Linked DNA regions of Homo sapiens: region 2 is linked to region 1. The links are contacts of gene promoters, found by promoter capture Hi-C in human tissues and cell types (Jung and others, 2019). All regions are on one chromosome and are shown on one strand. The core of a region is centred on a gene start or on the middle of the fragment in contact, and the rest is flanking DNA. Distances in the headings are between cores, read along the strand shown.

The links. The method cuts DNA at HindIII sites, captures the fragments that hold promoters and counts their contacts. A contact is called where the count stands out against the background at its distance.
Region 2: a contact is called between a fragment that was not itself captured here and the fragment with the promoter of MASP1 in region 1, in 1 of the 25 tissues and cell types used here (mesendoderm cells).

What each region holds. Positions count from the first base shown.
Region 1 is chr3:187,288,555-187,293,667 of GRCh38, reverse strand. MASP1 (MBL associated serine protease 1) reads left to right here and starts at 1,931. Exons shown (of 11, transcript NM_139125.4): 1 at 1,931-2,040. The coding sequence starts at 2,036. LOC101929130 (a long non-coding RNA gene) reads right to left here and starts at 2,396. Exons shown (of 2, transcript NR_135551.1): 1 at 2,132-2,396. The HindIII fragment of the contact is 8,732 bases long and covers 1-5,113 here.
Region 2 is chr3:186,836,095-186,841,207 of GRCh38, reverse strand. No RefSeq gene overlaps it. Among named protein-coding and RNA genes, the nearest start is that of ADIPOQ, 4.1 kb to the left of the region's middle. RefSeq lists an enhancer at 1,041-1,198. The HindIII fragment of the contact is 4,323 bases long and covers 886-5,113 here.

The sequences.
Region 1 (5,113 bases), core at 682-3,181:
CCTGTGAGTCTTCTTAACGGGAATGTTAAAAGCTTTTTTTCCTGTGCTGACTGAGACAGAACACATTTTGCTAAAACAGTGCCTGAGTTCAAACATATCCTCCCATCTCATATACTTGTACCTGCTTTATCAACCACAGCCTCTTGATAATGCCAAGCTTGGCAAGGCTGGCATTCAAAAGTGTGAAAATTAGAGAAACTGGAGAGAAAATGGAGTAAGAAGTACAGTGAGAGTCAAGCCACTGTTCCCCAGAACGTGCCAAAGGAACGTTATCTGAGGGTAGACAGTGCATGTGTCTGCCGCTTTGGTGAGTGTGGCTGGCAGCCCTCTCTCTGGTACTCCCCTGGACACTTCTACAAGCACAGTCTTATTTAAGCCTCATAGTAACTCCCATTTTCCAAATGAAGACACAGAATCAGATACCTTAAGTATTGTGCCCAAAGTACACAGCTGTCTTGGGTAGAAAGGAAAGATTACAGCTAAACTCTGAGTCTAATCTTCTTTTCAAAATGACTCAGATTGAGTTTCTCTATGAATGCCGTCTGTGTGTGTGCATTTGAAATTCCATATGCATTATAAAATGTTAATGAGTAGCAGTGTAATACAGTGGCTAACACTTCAAATTCTGCCTCTATTACTTTCTAGCTGTGTGAACTTGGGAAAGTTACTTAACCTCTCTGGGCAATTTCCTCTGAAAAATGAGAATATTGCCAGCCATGTATACAACATATAAAGATGACTGAAAAGAATTCATATATTAAGTGCTTAGAGCAGTGCCTGACACGTAGCACTCAATAGCTGTTAGCTTCTAGTGCTAGTGGCAGTGGGGAGTCATAAATAACTGGATGATCTTGGCAAGTGGCATATTCTCTCTGAGCCTTAGTGTCCTCACTTGTAAAATGAGTATAACAGCAGCACTTTCACCAGTTTGCAAAAGTAACTTGAGATGATGTTAATGACTAGTACTGTGTCTAACACAGAAAAGGTGCACAGTCAAACTTAACTTTTACACCCAGATACACCTCTCCCTATTCAGTGTTGGTTGTTGTTGTTGTGGAGGGGGTAATTTTCTTATTATTCAGCTCATCTTAGATCTAGTGTTGATTTCTCCGGAAGCCATGGGTATAGACATATATACAGGCCCAGGTCTTTCTACACCCCTGGGGAGGTGAGATTTCTTGCTGCGATGGGCCCTTTCTGGGCTGGAGTAGAGCCGCACACACTCCGAGCAAGTAAACAGTGCCACAGGTATTGCTCATGGGGAGGAACAACCAGCCAACTTCAGGACTTGGTGCTTCCCCAGTTCCGGGCCCGTGGCTCTGTTCACAGGAAAACCTGTCGTTGTGTGTGACTCTGATCACGAGAAAACCTGTAGTTATTTGGGGCTCTGCTCACAAGGAAACCTGTAGTTATTTGCAGACAGACGCTCTGGGATTTAGACCTTTTTTTTTTCTTCTAGTGTAGGTGCTAGAATTGCCTTCTTAGTTGGTTGTTTCTATTTAATTGCTTTTCTTTCATGGGTGTCCTGAAGAAAAGCAGAAAATTATAGTCATCTGGCAAAAAAGACTAAAGAGAAATTAGACTTTGTCCCCTTTCACTCTCTCTCTCTCTCTCTCTCTACACACACACACACACACACACACACACACACAGAGTGATACAAATACCTGCTTGAGCCCCTCAGTTATTTTCTCTCAAGGGCTGAAGTCAGCCACACAGGATAAAGGAGGGAAGGGAAGGAGCAGATCTTTTCGGTAGGAAGACAGATTTTGTTGTCAGGTTCCTGGGAGTGCAAGAGCAAGTCAAAGGAGAGAGAGAGGAGAGAGGAAAAGCCAGAGGGAGAGAGGGGGAGAGGGGATCTGTTGCAGGCAGGGGAAGGCGTGACCTGAATGGAGAATGCCAGCCAATTCCAGAGACACACAGGGACCTCAGAACAAAGATAAGGCATCACGGACACCACACCGGGCACGAGCTCACAGGCAAGTCAAGCTGGGAGGACCAAGGCCGGGCAGCCGGGAGCACCCAAGGCAGGAAAATGAGGTACGTGCCAGGGGAGGAGAGGGCACGGTTCCCTTTTGGGGACCAGTGTCAAATAGCAGGGAAGGTCTGACCTTGTCACTGACAGACTCACCTGCGTGTCCTGCATGTGGTAGTGAGGGGCTTTCTCATCAATTCTTAGGGCTCTGAGAAGGGAGCTGTGGGTGGGCTGGGTGCCTTCCCCAGGACTCCAGGAGACATAAAACTTGAAACGGGAGACTTCGTGCAAATCCTGCTCCGGACGCTGCTGAAGCTCAGATTTCTCCCACTGCCTGCACAGGGTGCTGCCTGCTGGCGAATGTGACTCTCCTCCTGTTCACCCACAAGGCTGATTTTTCCGTGTTCCTCCTCTGGAAAGAGCATTGCTTTCTCTCTTCCAGCACTTTGTGAGTTAGATATGTGTTTGTGTGTTCATTCCTTCTGACCAGAAAAGAAACCAGCTTCCCATAGCTTGGCTCTGTGGTTTCTTCAACCTTTACAAGTTTGCCAGTTAAACCTCAATTTAGAAAACTAAAAATCTGTCCCCATTTTACAGTTCCCTATAAATTTTCTGCATTTCTCATTGAAATCAGAGGCAGCTGGTGGCATGAATCAGGCTATGAAGTACACCAAATGGCTCTTAAAGAGATATCATACTTAAAAAAAAAAAAAGGATTTTAGAGTTCTGAAATCAAGAACTTCAAATTCTAATTGGTTTTAAACTCTTTAACCTTTCTTATTCCTCATTATACTTGACACTCCTTACCAGACCTTTCATACAAGTTCTATCCTGCAAGTCTGAAAACCCAACCACCCTAGTTATTTTTATTAGTTAAGTGTTAATGCTGTTACACACACACACACACACACACACACACACAATGCTCTGCAGATGTGTAAGTCCCTAAACACATCTTTTACTATTAATTTTCTTTTCACTTGGGAAAGTGTTTTTATTTGTTTCTCTTCTGCAAAGTAACCTAGCAACTTTTCTGGACCTGAGACCAATGAGAGGCTTCAGACTATGTTAACTCTTTGAACTCCGATTACCTGTGGTTCAGAGAGATAACCAGGTCCTTAAAAAGTGAGTGCAATAATTCTGTTCTTCTTAAAGCCATAGTAATTTTAAACCTGCCATTAAACATCATTTTTCTTTCTCCAAAAAAAAGTGATTTATGTCAATCTACATTGAATGATAATCTCATTTATCTGTCAATGATCTGGTCTGAATCCCACCCTACCATTCAGTGCCCCAGCCCATATCAAACTACTTGGCTGAGTAACAATTCTGTATCTTTGCATATGCTCATCCCTCAACCTGGAGCAACCTTCTTCTTTATTTTCCACCTAGAAGACCTGATTGTTCAAGCTGGCACAAATATCTCTTTCTCTCTCCTGACCACCATATTCCAGAGTGAGCATCCCCTCCTTTGTCCTTTGTTCTGTTTCTGTCCCTTGAAGCTGCATCTCTTATTGTCCTTGTAGTATCCCCTTGTTTAAATGTCCACCTCCCCTTACAAGTCTCAGCACTCCTTAAGTTACATGATCTATGTCTTCATCTTTGTATGGCCAGCACCTAGCATAATGTCTATTTCCTACCAGCCATTCAATACCTATTTGTTGAATTGAATTCAATTTTTGAATAGCCAAGCAACTACGAGAAAGGTGCTCTGCTAGAAAAGTCTCCAGCAGGTCTTGTCTCACATGGATACAGTATTTCAGTGTTTGCAGAGCACTTTCAAGAGCACTGTCTCATGGGGGTTTCAGATTCTGGATGAAGTAAGGATTTATGGATAAGTAGTGGGTATAAAAGCAGTTAAGCAACTTGCCCAAACCACACTGATGATCATGAAAAGGTCCAGATTCAAATTTGGGTCTTCGGGCTCCAAGTTCAGGATTTTTTCTACTATATTCCACTAGACTTTCAGCCAAGTGTATTATTCTAAACTGACGGCTCATAATTCTGACTGTACGTCGGAATGATCTGTGCTGCCTTGAAACATGCCAGTGCTCAGGCCTCACCCCAGAGCAATTAAACCAGAACCTCCTGAGGAGGGACTTTGGCATTAATATTTTTAAATTTTTTACGTAAAGCCATGGGTTTTTCAATTATTTTTCACAGGATTAATTGCTTTGGCCAGATGCCTGGGCATGATATGGGCATGGACCCAGCTTCTTCTGTGAGCTCTTTTTATTCCCTTCTTCTGTTGAAGTTAATTCACCATATGGTATTGAGCATGATGTGACATCTCTTGGGGTATCCTTTTCATCGTCTGTCAAATTAGGGTGCTCTGTAAAGGATCCATGCAGTCCCTTCCAACTCTTCAATTCAAAAATGGAGTCTTGGTGTGGAGTGGGTTGAAACAAGGGGCGTGTACGGACAGTGTATGGAAAAGATAGCAAGTGCCGTTCATGCCGCAATCATAGATATATGCAGGCATTTTTACAGAGTCCTGCTAGCCTGTTCCTACGGGGGGCCTCTGAAATCTCAGCTCTATATATTACTTTTGACATTTCTGCAATGTAGCTAAACTTTTTGATTAGCCGGAGGATAGATAGCAGGTGTTGGGAACTATACAGCCGGTGCCTCGTATACAAGAAGCCAAAAACATTCAGAGAGTGTGACGAGGAATGAAAGCTGCCACTTATATTCTTCAATTTACAGCCCCTAACGCAAGCAGGCAAGCATATGCTCAAGCCCATTACATGAAGGGAGATATTTGTTTCATATGTTTGAAACCGTTTTGAGATGCAAACAAAGTAGAAGGGAAAGCTTCCTGGGCCTTCCTCCCACGCTGACCAGTTGCCTACCACACATGGCACCGGGCTTCTGGGCTACACAGGGCTGTCTGCTGCCAGTCCTTGACAGAACCGGCCTCAGGAGGCTCAGTGTCTCCTCGATGTGGTCTGGAAAAAGCAGTCATGGAGGAAGTTGACCTTTCGGCCTTGCATAATTTGGGTGTCGCTATTATAGGGAAGTCCGGTTTAGGAGCCAAAGCTCATTCCTGACTCTTGCTTTTTGGGAACTGGCAGGATGGAATAATTATAACTAATGTTTGGCTAGGGCTGGACAGTTAACAAAATACTTCCCCATCCT
Region 2 (5,113 bases), core at 1,798-4,297, 450 kb after region 1:
TTACTGTCTGTTGCTATTTAATAGAACATAAACTTCAGGTCAGGTGCAGTGGCTCAGGCCTGTAATCCCAGTACTTTGGAAGGCCAAGACAGGCATATCACCTGAGATCAGGAGTTTGAGACCAGTCTGGCCAACATGGTGAAACCCCATCTCTACTAAAAATGCAGAAATAGCCGGGCGTGGTGGCACATACCTGTAGTCCCAGCTACTTGGGAGGCTGAGACAAGAGAATCACTTGAACCCAGGAGGTGGAGGTTGCAGTGAGCCAAGAGCACCATTGCGCTCTAGCCTGGGTGACAAGAGTGAAACTCTGTCTCAAAAAAAAAAAAAAAAGTAAACTTCAGGAGAGCAGAGATTTTGCCTATTCAAAGTTGTATCCCTTAGTTCCTAGAATAGAACCTGGCACAAAGTAGGCAATAATAAATGTTGAATTAATGAATAAATGAATGATCATATTCAACTTTCCTTTGGAGATAACTATTATTGTCTTTCATTTTACAAATAATGAATCTAGAGTTCAATGAGGGTAAATAATTTGTTCAAGGCACAAGTCTAGGATTTGAACCAGATCTGTCTAACTAAAAATCCCTATGCTTTCTAATTCCTCATGCCCTTCACCCCTCTTGATGGAGTGTGAGGCCTCAAGGTTGATGTATGTGCTTCAGGGTAGTTTCAGGGCTGGCATAAAAAGTATTTTCTTTGGCCGGGCACAGTAGCTCATGCCTGTAATCCCAGCATTTTGGGAGGCTGAGGCGGGCAGATCACTTGAGGTCAGGAGTCTGAGACCAGCCTGACGAAGATGGTGAAACCCCGTCTCCACTAAAAATACAAAAAAGTTAGCCGGGCGTGGTGGCAGGCACCTGCAATCCCAGCTACTCGGGGGTCTGAGGGAGGAGAATCGTTTGAACCCAGGAGGCGGAGGTTGCAGCGAGCCGAGATCGCACCATTGCACTCCAGCCTGGGCAACAGAGCGAGAATCCATCTCAAAAAAAAAAAAGTATTTTCTTCTAACTTTATAAGAATGCAGCTGGTTAGAGAAAGCTGTAGCTATTGCACAAGGTGGAATAACTTTAGCCCCACAATCACACCAAGACTGTGCTGGGCCTGGCTGTCAGTCAGTGACATTGTGAAAGCCTAGCATTTTGCGAGGCCTCAGGGCAATCTGCCACCCACCACAAAGGCCGTCATGTGGAAAGAGCCAGTTCTGTGGCATACTGGTTTAAAGACTGTAATTGAAAAACATTCAATCAGAAATGCCTTGAGGCTAGTCTTTTTCCCAGGACAGAACTATTACTACTTAGACCGAAATAACCAAATAAATGCGATCATTTCCTCCAGGGTACCGTAGCTACAGGTCAAGCCCCTGTTAGCATGTGAGTTGGGATACTGAAACAGGCCAAATCACTTAATTTATCTTAAATATGTTTAAGCATGGCCATATATTTTTGCTTAATTATGATTTTTAAAAATAATCTTAACTGAAGTAACCAAGCATAAGCACTGTATTTTGAAAAATAAAGATTGGAGCAAGATGGTAGAGTGAGCACGCCCTGCAGCAATGTACGCCATCCCCAAACCCCTAGAAATGGCAAGAAAGGAGAACATTTCTTTATCTTTTTTTCTTTTTTTTTTTTTTTGAGATGGAGTTTCACTCTTGTTGCCCAGGCTGGAGTACTATGGCATGATCTCAGTTCACCGCAACCTCTGCCTCTCAGGTTCAAGCGATTATCCTGCCTTAGCCTCCCGAGTAGCTGGGATTATGGGCATGTGCCACCACGCCCCGCTAATTTTGTATTTTTAGTAGAGACAGGGTTTCCCCATGTTGGTCAGGCTGGTCTCGAACTCCCGACCTCAGGTGATCCACCCCCTCGGCCTCCCAAAGTGCTGGAATGACAGGCGTGAGCCACCGCGCCTGGCCAGGAGAACATTTCTTTATCTCTTCTGAAGGTATGGCTACGGCTGTACTTCTGAAGTATCTCAGATGATAATTTAAGTATCTGGTTTGCTACTGCATGATTTGGACTGTCACCTCCTGCCACCGACCAGAAGGCCATCATGATTCAAGCGCAGTCAATGCAGGTAGGCAACCCTGAATTCATACTTTTTAAAGCCTGTGTCCTTGGACTACCCCCAATACTAAAAAATTGTACTAGTCAAGGTACAATAATTTTAGAAAGGCTGGAGAAGCAAAGGGAGATGATATTGCCTAAAGACCAGGAATCGGTGACTGCTCCTGGACCATAGCCTATGAGCCTGCGCTTACTGCATGTCTTGCTAGCTGCTCCACCATTGCCACTGAACAGGAGCCACTGTCACCGCCACTGCCAAGGGCGCTCACTGAAACACAACAGCTCCTCCCTTCTTCCCCACTTCAGTCTTTTCACGGTTGTCTCCCATGTGCACAAGCTAACTGGTACCCATCTGGCAAAGGAATGTAGGATGTGTCATTTCAGGCATCAAGCTCCAGGAATACAAAAGGGATTATGGAGAGGTGAATGGAGGGCTAAGTACTAACAGACATGATCTGGCATAGGTCACAATGTCAAAAAAGAAAAAGTGACACCCAAGGTAACAAAGCTAATAGAAAAAAGGGTGAAGCTTAAGAATAACTATAATTATTATATCAGAAAGATGTCATAGGAATGAGCATACATGAAAATAATTAACGTCTAGTCTGCCCACAGTAGGAAGTGAAAATAAATTTCTGTCTTTTTGTCACTAAGTTCATGGTGATTTGCTATGGCAATCTTAGGAAACCAATACAAGGATCTAGGGCCAGTGAAGAGTTCTTACATATGACAACAAAAGCACAATCCACTAAAGAAAAAAATGAAAAGTGAGATTTCAACAAAACTAAAACTTTTGCTCTGTGAAACATCCTGTTAAGAGGAGGAAAAGGCAATATATGAATTAGAGGAATGTATTTGCAAACCATATTTGAGACAAGAGATTTGGATCTAGATTGTATAAAGAAATCTCAAAACTAAATGGTAAAAAAAAATTCAATTAGAAAATGGACAAAGGACATGAACAATTATTTCACCAAGTAGGAAACACAAATGACAAACAAGCACATGCAAAGATGTTCAGCATTATTAACCATTACGGAAACGCAAATTAAAATCACCATGAGATATCACTACATGCCTACTAGAATGGCTAAAATTAAAAACAGGAATACTATAATGGTACATACATGTAGATGCATACAATTGTCAAAACCCACAGAATGTACAACACTAGGCCAGGCACAGTGGCTTATGCCTATAATTACAGCACTTTGGGAGGCTGAGGCAGGCAGATCAGCTGAGGTCAGGAGTTGGAGACCAGCCCGGCCAACATGGTGAAACCCCATCTCTACTAAAAATACAAAATTGGCCAGGTGTGGTGGCACGCACTTGTAATCCCAGCTACTTGGGAGGCTGAGGCAGGAGAATCACTTGAACCCAGGAGGCAAAGGTTGTAGTGAGCCGAGATTGTGCCATTGCGCTTGGCCTGGGCAAAAAAGAGAGAAACTCCATCTCATTAAAAAAAAAAGAGAGAGAGAGAGAGAATGTACAACAGTAAGTTAATCCTAATACAAACTATGGACTTTAGATGATTAAAAAGAACAAAAAGATGTGGAGAATAGAGAACACAAACTATTTTGAATTAAAAATAGTGAGAATGGCCAGGCACAGTGGTGCACGCCTGTAACCCCAGCACTTTGGGAGGCAGAGGCAGGTGGATCGCTTGAGGTCAGGAGTTTGAGACCAGCCTGGGCAACATGGCGGAACTCCACCTCTACTAAGAATACAAAAAAAATTACCCATGAGTGGTAGCACTCACCTGTAGCCCCAGCTACTCAGGTTGCTGAGATGTGAGGATCGCTTAAGCCTGGGAGGCAGGGGTTGCAGTGAGCCGAGATAGTGCCACTACACTCCAGCCTAGGCAACTGAGCAAGACCCTGCCTCAAAAAAAAAAAAAAAAAAAAAAAAAAAAAAAAAAAAAAAAAAGTGAAAATACTAAATTTGGGAAAGAATGCGTAAAAATAGATTACTCATACTTTGCTGGTGGGAATGGAAAATAATGCAGCCACTCTGAAAAGTAGTTTGGCAGTTTCTTTAAAGATTAAATAGCAGTAACACTTCTGGGCATTTATCCCAAAGAACTAAAAACTATGTCCATATAGCCAGGCTCGGTGGCACATGCCTGTAATCCCATCACTTTGGGAGGCCATGGCGGGCAAATCACCTGAGGCCGGGAGTTCGAGACCAGCCTGGCCAACATGGTGAAACTCTGTCTCTACTAAAAATAGAAAAACTACCCAGGTGTGGTGGTGCATGCCTGTAATCCCAGCTACTTGGGAGGCTGAGGCAGGAGAATTGCTTGAACCTGGGAGGCGGAGGTTGCAGTGAGCCGAGATCACGCCACTGCACTCCAGCCTGGGCGACAGAGTGAAACTCCATCTCAAAAAAAAAAAAAAAAAAAAAAAAAACTATGTCCGTACAAAAACCCGACATAAAAATCTGAACATCCCTGTACATATATGTCTTTGCTCATTTGTAAGTAAATATTTAGGATAAATTTCTAGAAGTGGAATTGCAGGGTAAAGAGATATGCACATCTTAAATTGTACTTATTGTAAACTGAATCTCAAGAATCCAGTATTGATTTATATTTCTCCCAATGTAGGATGAGAGTGCCCATTTCTCTATATCCTCAACAATACTCAATTCTGTCAAATTTAAATATCTGGTATTCTAATAGATTGTGTTAAAAGTGCCTTATTTTTATTTGTATTTCTTCTATTATATGTGATTAAATGTATCATATATTTATTGATTATTTGTATTTTTTCCTGGAATTGTGTGTTTCTTCCCTTGTCCATTTTCCTTATTGAATTATTCTTATTAATTTTGAAAATCTTTTTATTAACACATAATGTACATATTTTTGGGATACATGTAATAATTTGACACATTCATATAATGTGTAAAGATCTAAGGAGGTCGGGTACAGTGACTAACGCTTGTCATCCCAGCACTTTGGGAGGCCGAGGTGGGTGTATCACCTGAGATCAGGAGTTCAAGACCAGTCTGACCAACATGGTGAAACCCCATCTCTGCTAAAA